Linked DNA regions of Homo sapiens: regions 2, 3, 4, 5 and 6 are each linked to region 1. Evidence: promoter capture Hi-C in 16 types of primary human blood cells and fetal thymus (Javierre and others, 2016). All regions are on one chromosome and are shown on one strand. The core of a region is centred on a gene start or on the middle of the fragment in contact, and the rest is flanking DNA. Distances in the headings are between cores, read along the strand shown. Region 1 holds the start of DNAJC2 (DnaJ heat shock protein family (Hsp40) member C2). Region 2 has its middle 27 kb from the start of LINC01004. Region 3 overlaps LHFPL3-AS2 (LHFPL3 antisense RNA 2). Region 4 overlaps KMT2E-AS1 (KMT2E antisense RNA 1). Region 5 overlaps LHFPL3 (LHFPL tetraspan subfamily member 3). Region 6 holds the start of LOC101927902 (a long non-coding RNA gene).

Region 1 (2,887 bases), core at 278-2,777:
ATCCACCTGCCTCGGCCTCCCAAAGTGCTGGGATTATAGACGTGAGCCACCGCACCCAGACAACTCAAACTGTCTTAATTATTAAAATCTTGAATATAGCTCTTAAAAATTTTAAGAATTCACTAACAAGAATTTGTCCTGAAAGCAATTTTCCAAGCAGCAAATGGGAATTTACTAATGCAGCTAAGCTGTAGTGGAACAAGCTCTCAATCTGAAACCAGACACTCTGGGTTTTAGACTAGGTCTGACAGTGGCTATGTGACCTGAAATGAATCAGGATGTCTTCACCTGTAAAATGGGAACAATACCTATTTATCTCATTCAGTTCCTAGGAAGCTTGAATGAGACCACAGAAACTCTCTGAAATTACAAACTTGTAGTAAAGGTATCATCTATTCCTGGGAAGTGGGGGTAAATCACTGTACATGTGTATACTAGCAATTCAAAAAAGGAAAATCCCTGAACAACTTATTTTAAGATTTCCTCCACCTTACACAGGAGAGGATTAAAACACTGTCAAAAAGGTACTACCTGTGTAGTATGGGTGTGTGGCTTTTAAGAACACTGCCTTTTAAGCCTTTTGCTCTAGTTGTAAGAGGCACACGGAGACACATAAATGCAACACGTGCCATGGGTTATGTTCAAAATCACATTCAACAAGCGCCTATGTGACTGGCTATGGGAATTACTGTAGATCACTGGACCTGAAGACTCTTAAGTTTACAATACTCATGACTGTCCTGGGCCATAAAACTAAAACCTACAGCAGCAGGACAAGTTTCACTTGTAATAACTGCCTTTCAAAGTCTACGCGGATCTTTTCAGCAGCACAGTCTTTGAACACCGAGTATGAGGAGCGGTGTCTGAGTTGTGACATTTAAAAAACAAGGCCGGAGCAAACGTAGAGAGGGAGAAAGTTGTTTAAGAGAGCGCCAGTAGCAAAGCTTTGTACGACCCCAGGCACGTGGGGTGCTCGCTGCGCGTAGTCTTTCCACCGTAGGCAAGGAGATGCTTATGAGAACCTTTCTGGGGTGCTGGGGGGTTCCGTCCCGAAATGCTCAGCCCAATCCATGAGTCAGCAGCGGCGAGAGGAGGAAGCAACGGTAGGAGCAAAAGGAAGGCACCCCTCACCCTCCTTCCTTCTAATCTAGGGTAGGATTACTTTAAAACACGGAGCAAAAAGGCACTCGTCACGGCCCCATACGGCCCCGGGGCTAGTCGCCAGGGTCAAGGGTAGAGAGAGCCCAGGGTTGCCGAGGCGGAGGACTGAGGCAGGGGCAGCTGAGGTGAGAAGGAACCGAGGTTGGGTGGGCACTTACCAGAGGTCAGAGCGTGGGTGATGGCGGTGCCCCGGCCGTCCGCGGCGCTTGGCAGAAGCAGCATGATGGCGCCGGGTCTAGCCCGGTGGGCGCAGCGGCTCACGTCCCGGGCGGAGGGCGCTTAGGGTCCCCTCCAGCTCTACCTCTCACTCCGAGCCTCGCGCCTTGGCTCTAAGACGCCCAGGAACCGGCGCATGGAGACGACCAGTAAGCACTTCCGGGATGGATCTTTCGTGGTGTGGAGGCCAGTCTCACACCCTCCCACCCCCGCCAACGTGTGCGGTAACCTAGTTCTATACTGACTGAGATCCGGCTGGAGACCAAGTCGCACGAGAGAATGGTTCCTAGGCGCATCAGTTTTCCTGTAAAAAGGATTATATTCCACGTCCCAGTGCAATACATAGAACATAACCTTTAAAAGCAGTTCTTTTTATATTATCTTTAAGTTCTTACTGCTTTATGTATTAATCTGAACCTAATCAGTGATTTTCCCAGGAGCGCTATACTTTTAAGTAAAAAATGAAAATACCTGTATGAACCAGTATCGACGACTAGTATATACATTTGCGGAGAATTACGTACGTGTATTTGTGATACATTTGTGTTTAACTTGATGATGATAATAGCAGCTAATATTTGTCGTGCTATTACTAATTTACCTGCATTATATCTTTTAATACTCGCTTGGAGAAGAAACCTCTCTCTAGTGTGTTAGATTGTATTCCAAGGCCAGCAATATTTTTACCTTGTTCTAATGAAGTTTTTATTCAAGATATTCCCAATTATAGGACTCTGGGACTTAATTTTTTAATGTATAATAAAATCAATTGTATTCCTACTATATGCTTCCTTCTAAGACTGCAGTCAAAAGCAAAAACTAGCAAAAACAAACAGTGGGTAAAGGCTCACCCCCAACAGCAGTATCTGAAACAGGTTCAATAAAATAAACTTGATATGCCACTCTTTAGCAAGGACCACCAGAAATTAGTAAATTAGAAAATAACTTACTAATTTCATTATATTTTCACAATTAAAGTTTTTAAATATATTATATATATATATATGTATATTTTTTTTTGTAGAGACAGGGTCTCACTATGTTGCCCAAGGTGGTCTTGAACTCCTGGCCTCAAGGGATCCTCCTGCCTCAGTCTCCCAAAACTCTGGGATTAGAGGCGTGAGTCACTGTGCCAGGCCAATTAAATACATTTAATTGGTCTGTATATCTGCTGCATGATAAAATTGTCACTTCAAAACTGACTTTTCAAAAATTGAACTAAGGGAGGCTGAGGTGGGAAGATCGTTGAGGCCGGGAGGTGGAGGTTGCAGTGAGCTGAGATCACACCATTGCGCTCCAGCCTGGGTAACAGTGAGACCCCGTCTTTAAAAAAAAAAAAATTGAACTAATCTTCTGCCCCAAAACCTCTTCCTGATCCCTACTAATGCAACCACTGTTAAAACATGCTCCAAGGTGCAAAGTAACCTGACTCCACTTTCTTCATATTAATATATTTTTTTCCTCACACCTCCTCCCATTCAATTTTACCATTAACTCTAACATGGGTTTT
Region 2 (2,860 bases), core at 191-2,690, 1.6 Mb after region 1:
TGTCCTGGTTGTTGCTTGCTGTCAGGCATAAGTCCTCACTAGACACCTACCAGAAGGCAACTAACCCAATGGTCTGGCATAGGCAAAGGGGCTTACTAAAATGTAGGCTGGCACTCACTTCTAGCCCTCTCCTCCTGTCCCCACCACCTCTCTGTCTTATCACTTCCCTTCTATCTCCCCTCCTCCCTCAGCCTAGAGAATATTTTTCTAACTTAGGTAAGGAGCTTTGCTGTTATTCCTGATGTTTTCTCCTAAATCTTTTACCAGTTTGTTCTCTCCAGTTCACTAAGGATCTAGACCAGTGGTTTTCAATCTGCAGCCTACATCTGAGTCACCTGGAGGGCCTGTTAAAACACAGAACGTGGAGCCCAACCCCCAGAGGTGCTGATTCAGTAGGTCTGGGGTAGGGCCCAAGAATTTCCCTTTCTAACGAGTATCCAGGTGATGCTGATGTGGTCTGGAGACCATACTTTGAGAACCACCGGCCCAGGCTTTTGAAACTGAAAAACTTTGCTTTCTGCTTGTAAGACCCATCTCTTAGATAGGAGCAAAGAATGGTTTGTCTGTTCAAATGGGGAGATGGAATAGAAGAAAAAAAATCTAGAAGAAAAAAATCAAAATCAATGTTTTAAAAATAGTATTCTAGCATTCAGTAGTAATAATATAACCCCTTTGCTATGCCTTTAATATCTGGAAGAGAGAAGCTTGAGTACTTGCAAAATCTTGCCCCTGGATGGTGCAAAATAATGTCTCATTTTCCTCTTGAGTCTTTTGTCTTTGCCAAATCTATCTTAGAGGACAAAAAGGAGCAAGTCCTTCCTCCCTGCTTTCCTCTGTCTCCTCTTCTCTTTCCTCATGATGCTTCGGTCTCTTCTGTTATCCCTTGGCTCACCCCTCAGTCTTGATTTTTCTCACTCTGTGTTCCTAGCTGTCAGTCACGTGGACCTAATCCAGTGTTCTCCCAAGTAGAGGGGCTTAAGCTACTACTTTCAGGCTGTGCTGAGTGATATACATACAATGCCTCATTGACAATCCTGAAGGATGGTATTTTGCTTCTCATTTCACAGATGAGGAAACAGATGCTCAGAGAGATCACACTGCTAGGAATTGGTGAATCCAGAATTTGAGTCCAGTTTGTTTAGCTCCCAGTCCCAGGTCCTTCCCACATGTTCATGATCTTGTGTCCTTTTGCATCCCCAGCCCACAGGACAAAAACCTTGTCATGCTTGGGGTCAGGTTCTGGCCCCAGCTGAGGGCTGAGGGGAGTGGGTGGACACAGGGCAGGGAGCTGGAAGAACACCTGAGAGACAGCATGTAAGTGAGACATGGCTTTATTCAGCAGCCCCTTTACAGGGTCAGTGTTACATTTATACACTACACAGACAATAGTGGCTGAGAGCCAGGTGGTGAGCTTCTCTATGTTATGTCTACATGGCTATGATTGTATAAGACACGAGACTGCACTTGCGCCCCAATACTGCTGAGTCATTTAGGCTGTTTACCTTGACCTATGCCTGCTGCTCTATGCCTGCTTGGCTGCAGCACAGCCATGTTCCTTACAGACCTTCAGATGGAGATTTGCAATGAGTGCACTAAAAGAGACTCCATGTCAGATGCCAATCTCTGGGCCAAATCTTTGTGGGATACTTTACTCATAGTAGGAACTGCAGGACCACTACTTCCACTGGAGCATTTGTGTGTGTGTGTGTGTGTTTGTGTGTGTGTGTGTGCGTGTGTGTGTTTTCATGTGTGGGACATTCTTTTTGAAAATGAACATGGTGGGAAATTATGGTCTCACCCTCAAAATCCAACCAAATTCTCAGCAAACCCCAGATTGTGTAGGTTGTAGGAAAGAAGCATGTTAGTTTTGGCAGAAATACTCTTAGTCTGGCAGTAAATTTCTTAAAACATAAAAATGCTTTTTAACATCCTGTTTTTGTCCTCCTTTTGTTGATTTTTGAGCATTTCTTCCCAAGCAAGGAATTATGTAGCAAGATTTGAAAATTACCAAACTTTATTTTGTTAGTTTTCTTTGGTTCCTTTTCTATGTTTCTGTATACGTTATCTGCTTTAAACTTTAAACTCAAGGATTAAAGTGACTCTAAAGCACTTCGGAGTGATCCAGGAACCACATGGGGCTGGATAGCAGTTTCCTAGAGCAAAATGACAAGCCCTGAAAAGCTTACTGTAGGCCATCGAGTTCATACATGGCCCCCTGTCAGTGGGTAGATAAGCTGTGAACCTAGGAATATGGATGCCTGTGATAACTGGTCCTCACTCTTCTTCCTAGACAAAGTTTCAGATCTCTGTGTCTTTCTGGGCATCTTCGAAAACTTCCATTCCCCATTTGCCATGTAAGCCAGACTCATGTAGAAGTTAGGATTTGTAGACCCTGGAGGTAAACAGCTTCCTCCAGAACCTTGTTCTGCCTCTTAGTAGCTGTGTAATCTTGGGCAAGTTACTTAACCTCTCTAGGGCTCAGTTTCCTTACCTGTAAAATGGAAATAAAGCACATTCTTCCAGGCCAGGCATGGTGGCTCATGCCTGTAATCCCAGTGCTTTGGGAGGCCGAGAAGGGCAGATCATGAGCTCAGGAGTTCAAAACCAGCCTGGCCAACATGGTGAAACCTCGTCTCTAAAAAAAAGCAAAAATTAGCTGGGTGCAGTGGTGCACACCTGTAGTCCCAGCTATTCAGGAGGCTGAGGCATGAGAATTGCTTGAACCTGCTTGCAGTGAGCCGAGATCCCGCCACTGCACTCCAGCCTGGGCGACAGAGTGAGACTCCATCTCAAAAAAAAAAAAAAAAAAAAAGCACATACATTCTTCCTAGGGTTGTAGTGTGGCTCAAATAGATGCTTA
Region 3 (2,824 bases), core at 238-2,737, 1.6 Mb after region 1:
TGGAATGAAATTGATAACTAAATAAATAGCTGGACTACTCAAGTAAAACTTGACCTGCAATATCCAATTGCCCAATCTCCCCTTTGCAAATTGAAAACAACCAACCATTCCTCGCACATGAGCAACCCTTCATACTGGGTATATGAAGCAACAACACTTCATACTGGGTATATGTTGTCTGAGTGGGTTCCAATCCCTGATCCTTGGTTTACTATATGACTCTGAACAACTCTAAGCCTCAGTGTCCTCACTGGTAAAATAGATATAAATAATATTACTCAGCTCCATAGCATTGTTGTAAGGATATAAATTAAACTATACTGTTGTTGTGTTTGACAGGTAGGGGATATTCAGTGAATGTTCATTCCTTCCCCTCCTACTATATGCAAGACACTGAAGGAAGAAAAGAAACATAAAAAAAAGTCTCTGCTCTGAAGATCCTGAAGACAATTAGAGTGACATTTATAAGCAGGGATTGAAAATTCAAATGCGTACAAGGGCCAATAAATTCACAAAGCAAGCTCAGCTGGGGACATAATAGGGCGTAGTAGGAACTGGCCTGGCACAGTGGCCTCTAATCCCAGTACTTTGGGAGGCTGAGGCAGATGGATCACTTGAGTCCAGGAGTATGTGACCAGCCTAGGCAATATAGTGAGATCCCTTCTCTGAAAATAAAAAAAAAAAACAACAATAATTTTTTAAATAAAATAAAATAAATTTTTAAAAGGAAGTAGTGGGAACTGTGGAGCACTGAAGAGCCTAGGTCCCGTCTAAAGGGAATAAGTAGTCAACGCTCAGCTCTAATGATTCAAGAAATATGTATTGAGTTCCTACTATGTGCCAAGAACTGTTCTAAACTCTGAGAATATAGTGGTGAATCACACAAAACCCTGCTTTCCTTTCATAGGTCTTATGTTCTAGTAGGGGAAGACAGACAATAGACTGGAAAATGTCAGCTAATAATAGATGCCCTAAAGAGAATTAAAACAGGGTGATTGACAGAGAAATGGAGAGAGGAGTCAGGTAAGGCCTCCATGAAAAGGTGGCATTTAGAGTGAGACCTGAACAAACGTTTAAAAGCCACGTGTGAAAAAAGCAGAAGGCATGCCAGACCAGGAACGGCAAGGTGGCAGAGTGGGGAGCCACGTGGGCTAAGCTAGGACCCAGCTCTGGGCTTTGTAGGCCAGGATAGTTTGTACATTTTAAGTGTGAGAAAAAGCCACTGGAGGATCTTAAGCAGAAGAGTGATATAAACTATTTCACATTTCTAAAAGATTACTTTTGGTTTCGGCATCTAGCAGTATAAACTAGATACTCTAAAAAGCCTTTCTTTTTTTTTTTTTTTTTTTTTTTTTTTTAAGACGGAGTCTGGCTCTGTCACCCAGGTTGGAGTGCAGTGGGGCGATCTTGGCTAACTGCAACCTCCGCACCACCATGCCCAGCTAATTTTTGTATTTTTAGTAGAGACGGGGTTTCACCATGTTGGCCAGGCTAGTCTTGAACTCCTGACCTCATTATCCACCCACCTTGGCCTCCCATAGTGCTGGGATTACAGGCGTGAGCCATTGAGCCCAGCCTCTAAAAAGCCTTTCTTATGCCATACTATTAAATCTTAGATAAATTACAATAAGTTTATTTTTAACACACAGCTTAGATTATAAGAAAATAAGGGAAATTCCAAAAACATTTCAAAAAAGAAGTGGAGTGAGCTGAAAACTAAGTGTGAAATGTAAGCAAAGGCAAAAACTGGGCTTGCCTGAAGGTAAATCTGTATAACAAAGTAGGGAATGGAAGATTAAGCGTTGGGCCACTGGAAGCAGGTGAGTTAAATTTGACATTCACATCCAAAAGCAGGATGCTTGAAGATGGCTACATCCTAGGCAAGAGTGGTCTAGGAAAAATCCTCATGCTAGCGAAAGAAATCTATCAAGAACACCATCTCCACACTGGCTCTAGATGGAAAAAAAAAATAATAATGACCCCTTGAAATTTATCATATGCCTGCCCCCGTCAAGTATGGAATTCAGTCTTACACTCTCCATATGATCAAAGAAACCCCAACCAAGAAATTAAAGAGCTTTTTAGGGCCCCTTGTACCAGGCAGATACAAGCATTTGTTGTCTAGAGGAAAGCATCTCTCGCATAGCTCTCACCAATTAAGCTCAACAAAGTATGCAATTGCAATTTTAAAATTACTAAATATGGCTGGGCGCGGTGGCTCACGCCTATAATCCCAGCACTTTGGGAGGCCGAGGCAGGCGGATCACGAGGTCAGGAGATCGAGACCATCCTGGCGAACACGGTGAAACCCCGTCTCTACTAAAAATACAAAAAGAAAAAAATTAGCCGGGCGTGGTGGCGGGTGCCTGTAGTCCCAGCTACTCGGGAGGCTGAGGCAGGAGAATGGCGTGAACCCGGGGGGCGGAGCTTGCAGTGAGCCGAGATCGCGCCACTGCACTCCGGCCTGGGAGACAGCGAGACTCCGTCTCAAAAATAAAAATAAAAATTACTAAATATACAAATAAACTGTAAGCGATAATCAGCAGATATAACTAACAGCCGACTTATCACCCTACAGATTTTAGATAGTGGAATTACCAGATACACAATATAAAATAATCATGTTTTACATGTTAAGGAAATAAAGACAGCGTCTAAAACAATGAATACAATAAAGAGTACATTACATATAATCAGATAGATTAGAAGGAAATTTTTTAAGTCTTAGAAATTAAAACTATAATCACTGAAATTTAAAGTACAATGTGTAAATTACAAACAGGTATAACTGAAGAGAGGAGCTGTGAACTAGTAGACAGATCTA
Region 4 (3,019 bases), core at 468-2,967, 1.7 Mb after region 1:
CTGTGAAGACTATCAAATGTCAATTATTTTTCTTGAAAGTCAATTCCTTCTTCTTCCTTATACCCACCCAGGCAACAATTACGGATGTTTCTGTAATAACTTAGATTCCTTCTTTATCACTCCTGCTCTGATTCAGGCTCTTCTTGCTACATTGAGGGCTCTAAAAGCCAGTCTCTTCTGGGTTGAAGACAGGTATGTTTTAAAGTAAGTCTTTCTCTGTCCTGTGCCACACCTCATGCCTGTAATCTCAGCACTTTGGGAGGCCAAGATGGGCGGATCACCTGAGGTGGGGAGTTCGAGACCAGCCTGGCCAACATGGCGAAACCCCGAAATACAAAAATTAGCCAGGCGCGGTGACAAGCGTCTGTAATCCCAGCTACTGGGGAGGGTGATGCAGGAGAATCACTTGAACCCAGGAGGTGGAGGCTGCCGTGAGCCGAGATCGTGCCACTGCACTCCAGCCTGGGCAACTGTGCAAGACTCTGTCTCAATTAAAAAAAAAAAAAAAAAAAAAAAGGCCAAGTCATCCTTCAGACAGTGTAAGTAGGGCAAAGATTATGAACTCTGGTGAGGTCAGGGAGACAGATGTTAAAGTTAATGCTCTGCCACCTTGGGTAAGATTATATATAAAGTATATACAACAGCATCCAACAGTTCGGTGTATTACGAGAGCATTCTCTTTTGTGGGGAGGGAAGTCACACTAGCAGTTAAGGATTTCTCGTCTGGCCTTAAGTCAAGACTTTCCAATAATTCCCCTGTTCTCTCATTAATGTCACTAATGACCTGATGTGGCATTACCTTGCTAATTAAAAAAACAAAAATCCCAAACTCTTGTTATTCCTAAATCCTTACTTCCAACTGTTATTCTTACATCAAACTATACATAAAGAAATGGAAGTAGCATTAAAACTGAGCTAAGTTTAGGATGGGCACGGTGGCTCACGCCTATAATCCCAGCACTTTGGGAGGCTGAGGCAGGCAGATCACCTGAGGTCAGGAGTTCAAGACCAGCCCGGCCAACATGGTGAAACCCTGTCTCTACTAAAAATACAAAAATTAGCTGGGCGTGGTGGTGTGCGCCTGTAGTTCCAGCTACTCACGGACTGAAGCAGGAGAATCGCTTGAACCCAGGAGCCGGAGGCTGCAGTGAGCTGAGAACGTACCACTGCACTCCAGCCTGAGTGACAGAGCAAAGCTCCTTCTCAAAACCAAAAAACAAAACTGAGCTAAGCTTAAACTGGTAGAATGAAGTCTGGGAGAAAATAAATTAGTAAGTAAACATTTACTTGCTAAACAACTGTAAGGGAAAAACCAGGATATAGTTTTAAATTTGAGACAAATATTAATCGATATACTTTGAGAGGGGCACTTAAGAAATACTCTTTTCAGGATAAGAAATATTAAGGCGATATATTCTCTAAGAATAAGTTTCTACATAATCTAATCTAGTTTAGGCTTAAGTTGTATGAAGTACCGTTTGTATTAGGTTGATAACCAATTTAGTTTATTAGGAATGGTACTATATACAAGATATTTGCTGACTGAAAGCACGTTTGATACCTCAAAAGACAACGCTGACAACGCCGCTTTTGCAGTGTGCTTACAAAGGAACAAAAAACAAAACAAACCCCAAAGGCCATTTCTTTTTCAAATAAGAAATACAAATGCAGGATAAACTTCAGTGCTTGCAGCAAAACTAGGCATTAAAGAAAAATGCTATAAAATATATTTCCTTAAAAATATCCAGCTCAGTTTTTTTCTTCTTCCCACCTTTTTGGGGCAGAACTATCTCTGGGCCATCAGCAGTCTTCTGCCTTGCCTGGAGCCTCCCTAACCTTTCATCTCTTATCCAAATTGTTTATCAAAAGAGCTCCTTTAAAAGAGTTTAAAAGCCAGTATTTACAGTTTATAGACTGCACAGTTAATCTTATCAATCTCTAAAAAACCATGTATACCTGAATGCCCATCAAGTGTCAAGCACTAGGCTGGGTTATCAACATAAAGAATGACACATTTACTTGCGAGTAGGGATTTTGCAGTTTCAAGAGGCAAAGAAAAGGTTCAAATTGTATTATCCAGAAGTGAGAAAGACGCACTCCAGGTAGCAGGACAAAAGCACAAAGGTATGAAATGGCATAGCACTTTTGAGATGGTGTGCATTTTAATTTTAACACACCAGAAGATATGCTATGTGAACCTAGTAAGCTTACCGCAACTGCAATGTTCCAAAGTTAAGAGACAATAATTTCAACAAAAACAAGGAAAAGGAGGTTGGGGTGTAATTTACTCAAATAATCTTTGTGAGGGGATGGGGGAAGAAAATTCTTAAAAAACAAGTACCAAGCTTAGTATTTTTATTGAGCTCAGAAAGCCTGTGGTCCCCAGTAAACTTTTACATTGCCTACCTGTGGCACTGAAGCTGGCAGAGCTAAGATGGAGGTGAAAATTGGAGAGGTATTGGAACATAATAGGCCCAAATGAAATTGCCCAGGCAGAATATATGAATGTATGAAGGCAGTCAAAGAAAAGTAATTCCAAGTATGAACAGTATTTAAAATGCCATAGGAAAGTCAAGAAAAATTGAGAGCTCAAGAAGTTCGTGGATTTGGCAATCAGGAACAATGAAGGTACACGCTGATTAAAGGCACAAAACAAGGAAAGGGTGTTTCCATTCGCTTGGAAAATGGCCTTTTTTCCTTATTAAGGCACGGTGAAAGTAGAAACATTCTGAAAATTACCTTAAAATCTACTGACTTCATATTTAGTTCCCTTTTTAAGCAGGAATAAAAACTGCTATGAAGGAAGGGGAGACATCTTACACGTAACAAAGTAACCCTTGAAGACATTCAAGAGTTCTTAATGCTTACTTTCTATTCAGAGTGGACAAATTACATTCTTTGTACTAAATATTTATAGCTCATCCACATTCAGTTGCTTATAACTGAAAAAAGAAATCCACAAAAACTAGTGAGGATTTAAGGATACACAAATGAATTAAAAACCCAATCTTGTTTTCAA
Region 5 (2,823 bases), core at 193-2,692, 1.5 Mb after region 1:
CCCTTGAGCCCAGGATTTTAAGGCTGCAGTGAACTATGATTGTGCCACTTCACTCACCTGGTCAACAAAGTGAAATCCTGTCTCTAAAAAAACAAGTGGTTGGGAGATTCTCCTGCTCTATACCTGCAGAGCAGACAGGAGGCCTTACTGGTCCTGTGCATCTTAATCTTTGCTCCATCCCCTTCCTCCCCCGCATTACAACGCCCCGTGGAGCTCAGGGGAAAATACCCAGTTGCTGCCTTGAGCAGTAGACTTGCCTCAGAGCTCCTAGCTTACTGTTTACATGCAGGGTCTGGAACTAAGCAGCTAAATTGGCTGTGTGTTTGTCCCTTTAGAACTGATTGTCAGTCCTTCCCCCTCAGTCCGTTCAGTGGATTCTGAACACTGGCCGGGTGAAGGTCTCATTGCCCAGAGCTGAGATCAACCGCTAACAAGAAGAAAACTATTTCAGGCCAGAGGCCATGGGAGAAATGGCGGGGAAGCCAGGCTCTTCTGTGGATGACACGCCAGGCTCAGGTGGCCAGTGAGGACCATCTTTGTGATTTGTTCATTCATTTTTTTACCTGAAATGGAGACTGATGTGGCTCCCGGGAGGGGGCTATGAAGAGGACAAGGCCTGTGAGGTGCTGCCAATACTTTCTTGCCTCACAGGCTGATGAGAATAGACAGAACCACAGCACCATGAAGCCCACCAGCAGCGCCCCAGCTCCCCAGCCTCGTGCCTGCAACAGAGTAGGTGGTCACTGAAGGTTTCATTTCTTTTTAATCTCCCATAGTAGAGAATTTCTGTTTCTACCATTATGACACAACTGTTGCAGCTATGAGGACAAATCTTTTGAGCCTTTCTGCAGATCTGGGTGCCTTACCCCCAACTTTCATATCAGAGACATCTAGTTGCCAAATTAAGGGTCTGTTTTGAATGGTTTCTTACTCTGTTTTGTGTTGCTATAACAGAATACCATAAAAAAAAAATTTGTTTTGTTTGAATTCTCTTTTTCAGGCAGCCCCCACAATCACAGCAGATTCAGAGAGACTCCCATAAATGTATTTCTTACAGTTCTGGAAGCTGGGAAGTCCAAGGCTGAGGGGCTGCTTCTGGTGAGGGCCTTCTGGCTGCATCATAACATGGCGGAAGGGCAAGCAGGCGTGCGAGACTGGAAAGCAGGCTGAATATCATCCCTTTATCATGTGTGAGACAGGAAATCAGGCCAAATTTCATCCCTTTATTGGGACCCCACTCCCAGTGACAACAGCATTAATCCATCATGACCCCTCATGACCTAAGCACCTTTTAAAGGTCCCACTGTTAATACTATTACAATGGCAATTAGATTTCAACATGAGTTTCAGAGGGGACATTCAAACCACAGTAGTCCCTGAATTGGCATTCTCTTGTGTTGGCCAAGAGCCATTCTCTGAATCACAAATAAAATGAACGCCTGGGCAGAGGTTGGGAAGCCTTTCTAAGAACCAGAAATCTGTTCTATCTGTGGAAGAAGAATGTCCTATTATAGTGAGCAAGAGATGGACAAAGCAGAAATGATATGTGCTGCTAGGAGCATTATTTGGCTCTCCTGTCTGTGACAGCCACCAAAGGCAACAAGAATAATGAAAAGAGATATGGTGTAGACAGGCTGACAGAAATGTCTGGAGGGAGCTCTTAGAGTGACTTAAACAGCCCCAACCTTGTTCTAGGATCTCACTAGACTCAGTGAATCACTTTGAACACAAATTAATCCAGCTACCAGGAATCTAAGAAAAAGAAATTGAAAGTTATTATTTTCTATTGTTATGACTTCTCATCCTTATGAAAGTGTTCTTCTTTTGCAACACTTTGCATATTGATCACAGATTTTCTTCTCAATGCTCATTCACTTATTCAACAAGAATGCATTGGGTGATACATTGAGGAATGCATTGAATGTATGTGAAGGTGCTAAAAGGAATGTTTAGAATAGCTATCCTTTTGGTGTGCTGAGAGTCTTCAGAGCATCTCCTAATCACTCTCTTAGAGAAGCAAATACAAACCCACAATAACATGGAAGATGGTAGAATGTTTAGCTTTTTATTTCCAAGGAATTTAATTTTCAAAATAATAGTGGCACATTTTTCCCAGTTATAAAAATGATGTGTGTTCAGCTCACTGTAAAAATAAAAACAGAAAAAGAAAAATCAGACAATTTTTCTTTTTCAGAGTCAAAAAACATCCTAAATCGTAGGGCATGGTGGCTCACACCTGTAATCCTAGCACTTTGGGAAACTGAGGCAGGCGGATCACAAGGTCAGCCGTTCAAAACCAGCCTGGCCAACATAGAGAAACCCCGTCTCTACTAAAAATACAAAAATTAGCCAGGTGTGGTGGCGGGCACCTGTAATCCCAGCTATTCCAGAGGCTGAGGCAAGAGAATCACCTGAACCCGGGAGGCAGAGGTTGCAGTGAGCTGAGACCACGCCACTGCACTCCAGCCTGGGTGACAGAGTGAGACTGTCTCAAAAAAAAAAAAAAAAAAAAAAAATCCTAAATCTACCATTCAGAGCTCAACTAACATTATGGGGTAGATCCTTCCATATTTTTTCTATGTACATATAAACATATTTGATTTTCAAAAATGAGATTCCATTAATCATGCTACTTCATATCCTGCTTTATTCTTTTATTATGGTATGTATGTTATTCATTTATTATAGAGCTATACAATCATTTTAAATGGCTGTATAGGCTGGGCACAGTGGCTCATGCTTGTAATCCCACGCTGAAGCAGGAGGATTGCTTGAGGCCAGGATTTCAAGACCAGCCTGGACAACATAGCGAGAAACTATCTC
Region 6 (2,987 bases), core at 210-2,709, 1.6 Mb after region 1:
GGTCCCCCAGCAGTGCCGCCCACCATCGCTGCGCTCGATTTCTCGCTGGACCTTAGCTGCCTCCCCACGGGGCTGGGCTCGGGACCCGCAGCCCACCATGCCTGAGACTCCCCCACCCTCCGTGGGCTCCTGGGGGGCCCAAGCCTCCCCGACGAGTGCCGCCACCTGCTCCACGGTGCCCAGTCCCATAGACCACCCAAGGGCTGAGGAGTGCGGGCGCACGGTGTGGGACTGGCAAGCAGCTCCACCTGAAGCCCCCGTGCAGAATCCACTGCGTGAAGCCAGCTGGGCTCCTGACTGGTGGGGACTTGGAGAAACTTTTTGTCTAGCTAAGGGATTGTAAATACACCAATCGGCACTCTGTACTAGCTCAAGATTTGTAAACACACCAATCAGCACCCTGTGTCTAGCTCAGGGTTTGTGAATGCACCAATCAACACTCTGTATCTAGCTAATCTGGTGGGGACGTGGAGAACCTTTGTGTCTAGCTCAGGGATTGTAAACGCACCATTCAGCACCCTGTCAAAACAGACCACTCCTCTCTCTGTAAAATGGACCAATCAGCAGGATGTGGGTGGGGCCAGATAATAGAATAAAAGCAGGCTGCCCCAGCTGGCAGTGGCAATCCTCTCCGGTCCCCTTCCGGGCTGTGGGAGCTTTGTTCTTTTGCTCTTTGCAATAAATCTTGCTGCTGCTCGCTCTTTGGGTCCACATTGCCTTTGTGAGCTGTAACACTCACGGCGAAGGTCTGCAGCTTCACTCCTAAAGCCAGAGAGACCACAAACCCACCGGGAGGAACGAACAACTCCAGACGCGCGGCCTTAAGAGCTGTAACACTCACCGCGAAAGTCTGCAGCTTCACTCCTAAAGCCAGCGAGACCACGAACCCACCAGGAGGAACGAACAATTCCAGATGCGCCGCCTTAGGAGCTGTAACACTCACCGCGAAGATCTGCAGCTTCACTCCTGAGCCGGCGAGACCACGAACCCCACCAGAAGGAAGAAACTCCGGACACGCCGCCTTTAAGAACTATAACACTCACGGCGAGGGTCCACGGCTTCATTCTTGAAGTCAGTGAAACCAAGAACCCACCAATTCCGGACACAGCAGGATCCCACCCACAGAACCGCCAGGTGCACAGCTGCATATCCTCAGGGGAAAACTCCCCTCCCCTGCCACCTTACTGATAGGCTTCACTTCCCAGAGAACTTTCCCAATCCTGTGCAATGCCTGAGTGGTACATTGTATTCTATGAGAATGGCGCCCCCGCCTCCAGAGTTGTGCAACAAGACTTCCATGAATCAAAGCCCATCGCTGGCTGCCTCCTCTAGCCCTGCATAGCCCAGGTACATCTGAAAGGAGTGAGAAGTGTTTTGAGGGCTCTCCCTGTCTCTTCCTGCACCTCTCTCTTGTGATCCCAGGTAGGCACCTGCTCTGAATCTTGCTCTTCCTCAGTTGCAGTCCCGGGTGGAAGCAGATCAGAATCGAATGAGTGGCCCCTCTGCCATCCTGCCCTGGCCTCCACCTTGCCACTCTCATTAGACTGGGCATTCCTGGTATGTGGTGCTCAATGCTTGTTGAATGAATGAATAAGTAAGACTCTGCTAAGATCTCTGCCAATAATAACCACAGAGATAGTTATATTATTTTAATGGAAGTTTCTTTAAAACCAAGACAATTACAAGAGCCAAAGGATTGACAACTCTACTGATGGCATGTCTAGAAGAGACCCTTAGAGAAAGGAACCTTTCCAATCCTTTTTAGATGATACCAAGCAGGCAACCGCCTCCCCCAGACGCTTGCCCCAGTCTCCTATGGAAGGTTCGGGTAGCCTGGACTGCAGCTCTTCTAGGCAGCTTTCCAGTTGTATTCCCTGGCATAATTGTAACTTCAACACCTAGGTCTTAAGAAACATGTGTCCAGGCACAGTGGCTCATGCCTGTAATCCCAACCCTTTGGGAGGCCAAGGTAGGAGGATCGCTTAAGGCCAAGAATTTGAGACGAGCCCAGGGAACATAGTGAGACCCCATCTCTATAAAAAATTAGAGGCCAGGCACGGTGGCTCATGCCTGTAATCCCACCACTTTGAGAGGCCGAGGGGGGCAGGTCACCTGAGGTCAGGAGTTCCAGACCAGCGTGACCAACATGGAGAAACCCCATCTCTACTAAAAATACAAAATTAGCCTGGTGTGGTGGCGCATGCCTGTAATCCCAGCTACTTGGGAGGCTGAGGCAGGAGAATCACTTGAACCCAGGAGGTGGAGGTTGCAGCGAGCCGAGACCGTGCCACTGCACTCCAGCCTGAGTGACAGAGTGAGAGTCCATCAAAAAAAAAAAATTAGAAAATTAGCTGGTGGTTTGCGTCTGTAGTCCCAGCTACTTAGAAGGCTGAGGCAGCAGGATTGCTTGAAGTAATGCAGCAAGCTATGACTGTCCCACTGCACTACAGCCTGGGCAACAGAGTGATACACTGTCTCTAAAAAAGAAAGACAAAAAAGCAACATGGCCTGGGTTATCTGGGCAACACATTCCACACATCTTGGAGGACCCTCACCTCCTGATAATCAAAATGAGCATTTCCATGTTTCATATTTCTGAGTGCCTGTCAACAGCACACCATTTCACAGCAGAGCAGGGACTAGAGTGAGGCATAGGAGGCACTCAACATGGGTGCAAAATTCAATTTTTTTTTTTTAGATGGAGTCTCGCTCTGTCACCCAGGCTGGAGTGCAGTGGAGCGATCTCGGCTCACTGCAACCTCTGCCTCTCAGGTTCAAGCTGATTCTCCTGCCTCAGCCTCCCGACTAGCTGGGATTACAGGTGTGTGCCACCACAGCCAGCTGATTTTTGTATTTTTAGCAGAGACGGGTTTCACTGTGTTGGCCAGGCTGGTCTTGAACTCCTGACCTCAGGTGATCCACCCACCTCAGCCTCCCAAAGTGTTGGGATTACAGGTGTGAGCCACAATGCCGGGCCCATGGGTGCA

Evidence for each region. The method cuts DNA at HindIII sites, captures the fragments that hold promoters and counts their contacts. A CHiCAGO score of 5 or more calls a contact.
Region 2: a contact is called between a fragment that was not itself captured here and the fragment with the promoter of DNAJC2 in region 1, in 1 of 17 cell types (total B cells). The highest score is 5.5, in total B cells.
Region 3: a fragment that was not itself captured here is called in contact with the fragment with the promoter of DNAJC2 in region 1 in 1 of 17 cell types (total B cells); the score reaches 6.1 in total B cells.
Region 4: a fragment that was not itself captured here is called in contact with the fragment with the promoter of DNAJC2 in region 1 in 8 of 17 cell types (non-activated CD4 T cells, total B cells, total CD8 T cells and 5 more); the score reaches 12.4 in non-activated CD4 T cells.
Region 5: a contact is called between a fragment that was not itself captured here and the fragment with the promoter of DNAJC2 in region 1, in 1 of 17 cell types (activated CD4 T cells). The highest score is 5.2, in activated CD4 T cells.
Region 6: a contact is called between a fragment that was not itself captured here and the fragment with the promoter of DNAJC2 in region 1, in 5 of 17 cell types (naive CD8 T cells, total CD4 T cells, naive B cells and 2 more). The highest score is 7.2, in naive CD8 T cells.

Annotation. Positions count from the first base shown.
Region 1 is chr7:103,343,240-103,346,126 of GRCh38, forward strand. DNAJC2 (DnaJ heat shock protein family (Hsp40) member C2) reads right to left here and starts at 1,528. Exons shown (of 17, transcript NM_014377.3): 1 at 1,320-1,528. The coding sequence starts at 1,383. It also overlaps a transcript of PMPCB not described here. RefSeq lists an enhancer at 1,471-1,710. The HindIII fragment of the contact is 5,590 bases long and covers 943-2,887 here.
Region 2 is chr7:104,962,597-104,965,456 of GRCh38, forward strand. No RefSeq gene overlaps it. Among named protein-coding and RNA genes, the nearest start is that of LINC01004, 27 kb to the right of the region's middle. The HindIII fragment of the contact is 1,477 bases long and covers 703-2,179 here.
Region 3 is chr7:104,908,788-104,911,611 of GRCh38, forward strand. The region is part of intron 3 of LHFPL3-AS2 (LHFPL3 antisense RNA 2); the gene reads right to left. Among named protein-coding and RNA genes, the nearest start is that of LHFPL3-AS2, 16 kb to the right of the region's middle. RefSeq lists a silencer at 1,392-1,548. The HindIII fragment of the contact is 7,345 bases long and covers 1-2,824 here.
Region 4 is chr7:105,008,275-105,011,293 of GRCh38, forward strand. It overlaps KMT2E-AS1 (KMT2E antisense RNA 1), which reads right to left. Exons shown (of 1, transcript NR_024586.1): 1 at 2,268-3,019. Among named protein-coding and RNA genes, the nearest start is that of KMT2E-AS1, 4.4 kb to the right of the region's middle. The HindIII fragment of the contact is 974 bases long and covers 1,231-2,204 here.
Region 5 is chr7:104,890,217-104,893,039 of GRCh38, forward strand. The region is part of intron 2 of LHFPL3 (LHFPL tetraspan subfamily member 3); the gene reads left to right. Among named protein-coding and RNA genes, the nearest start is that of LHFPL3-AS2, 35 kb to the right of the region's middle. The HindIII fragment of the contact is 5,504 bases long and covers 1-2,823 here.
Region 6 is chr7:104,940,324-104,943,310 of GRCh38, forward strand. It overlaps LOC101927902 (a long non-coding RNA gene), which reads left to right and starts at 621. Exons shown (of 2, transcript NR_187679.1): 1 at 621-1,347. The HindIII fragment of the contact is 9,797 bases long and covers 1-2,987 here.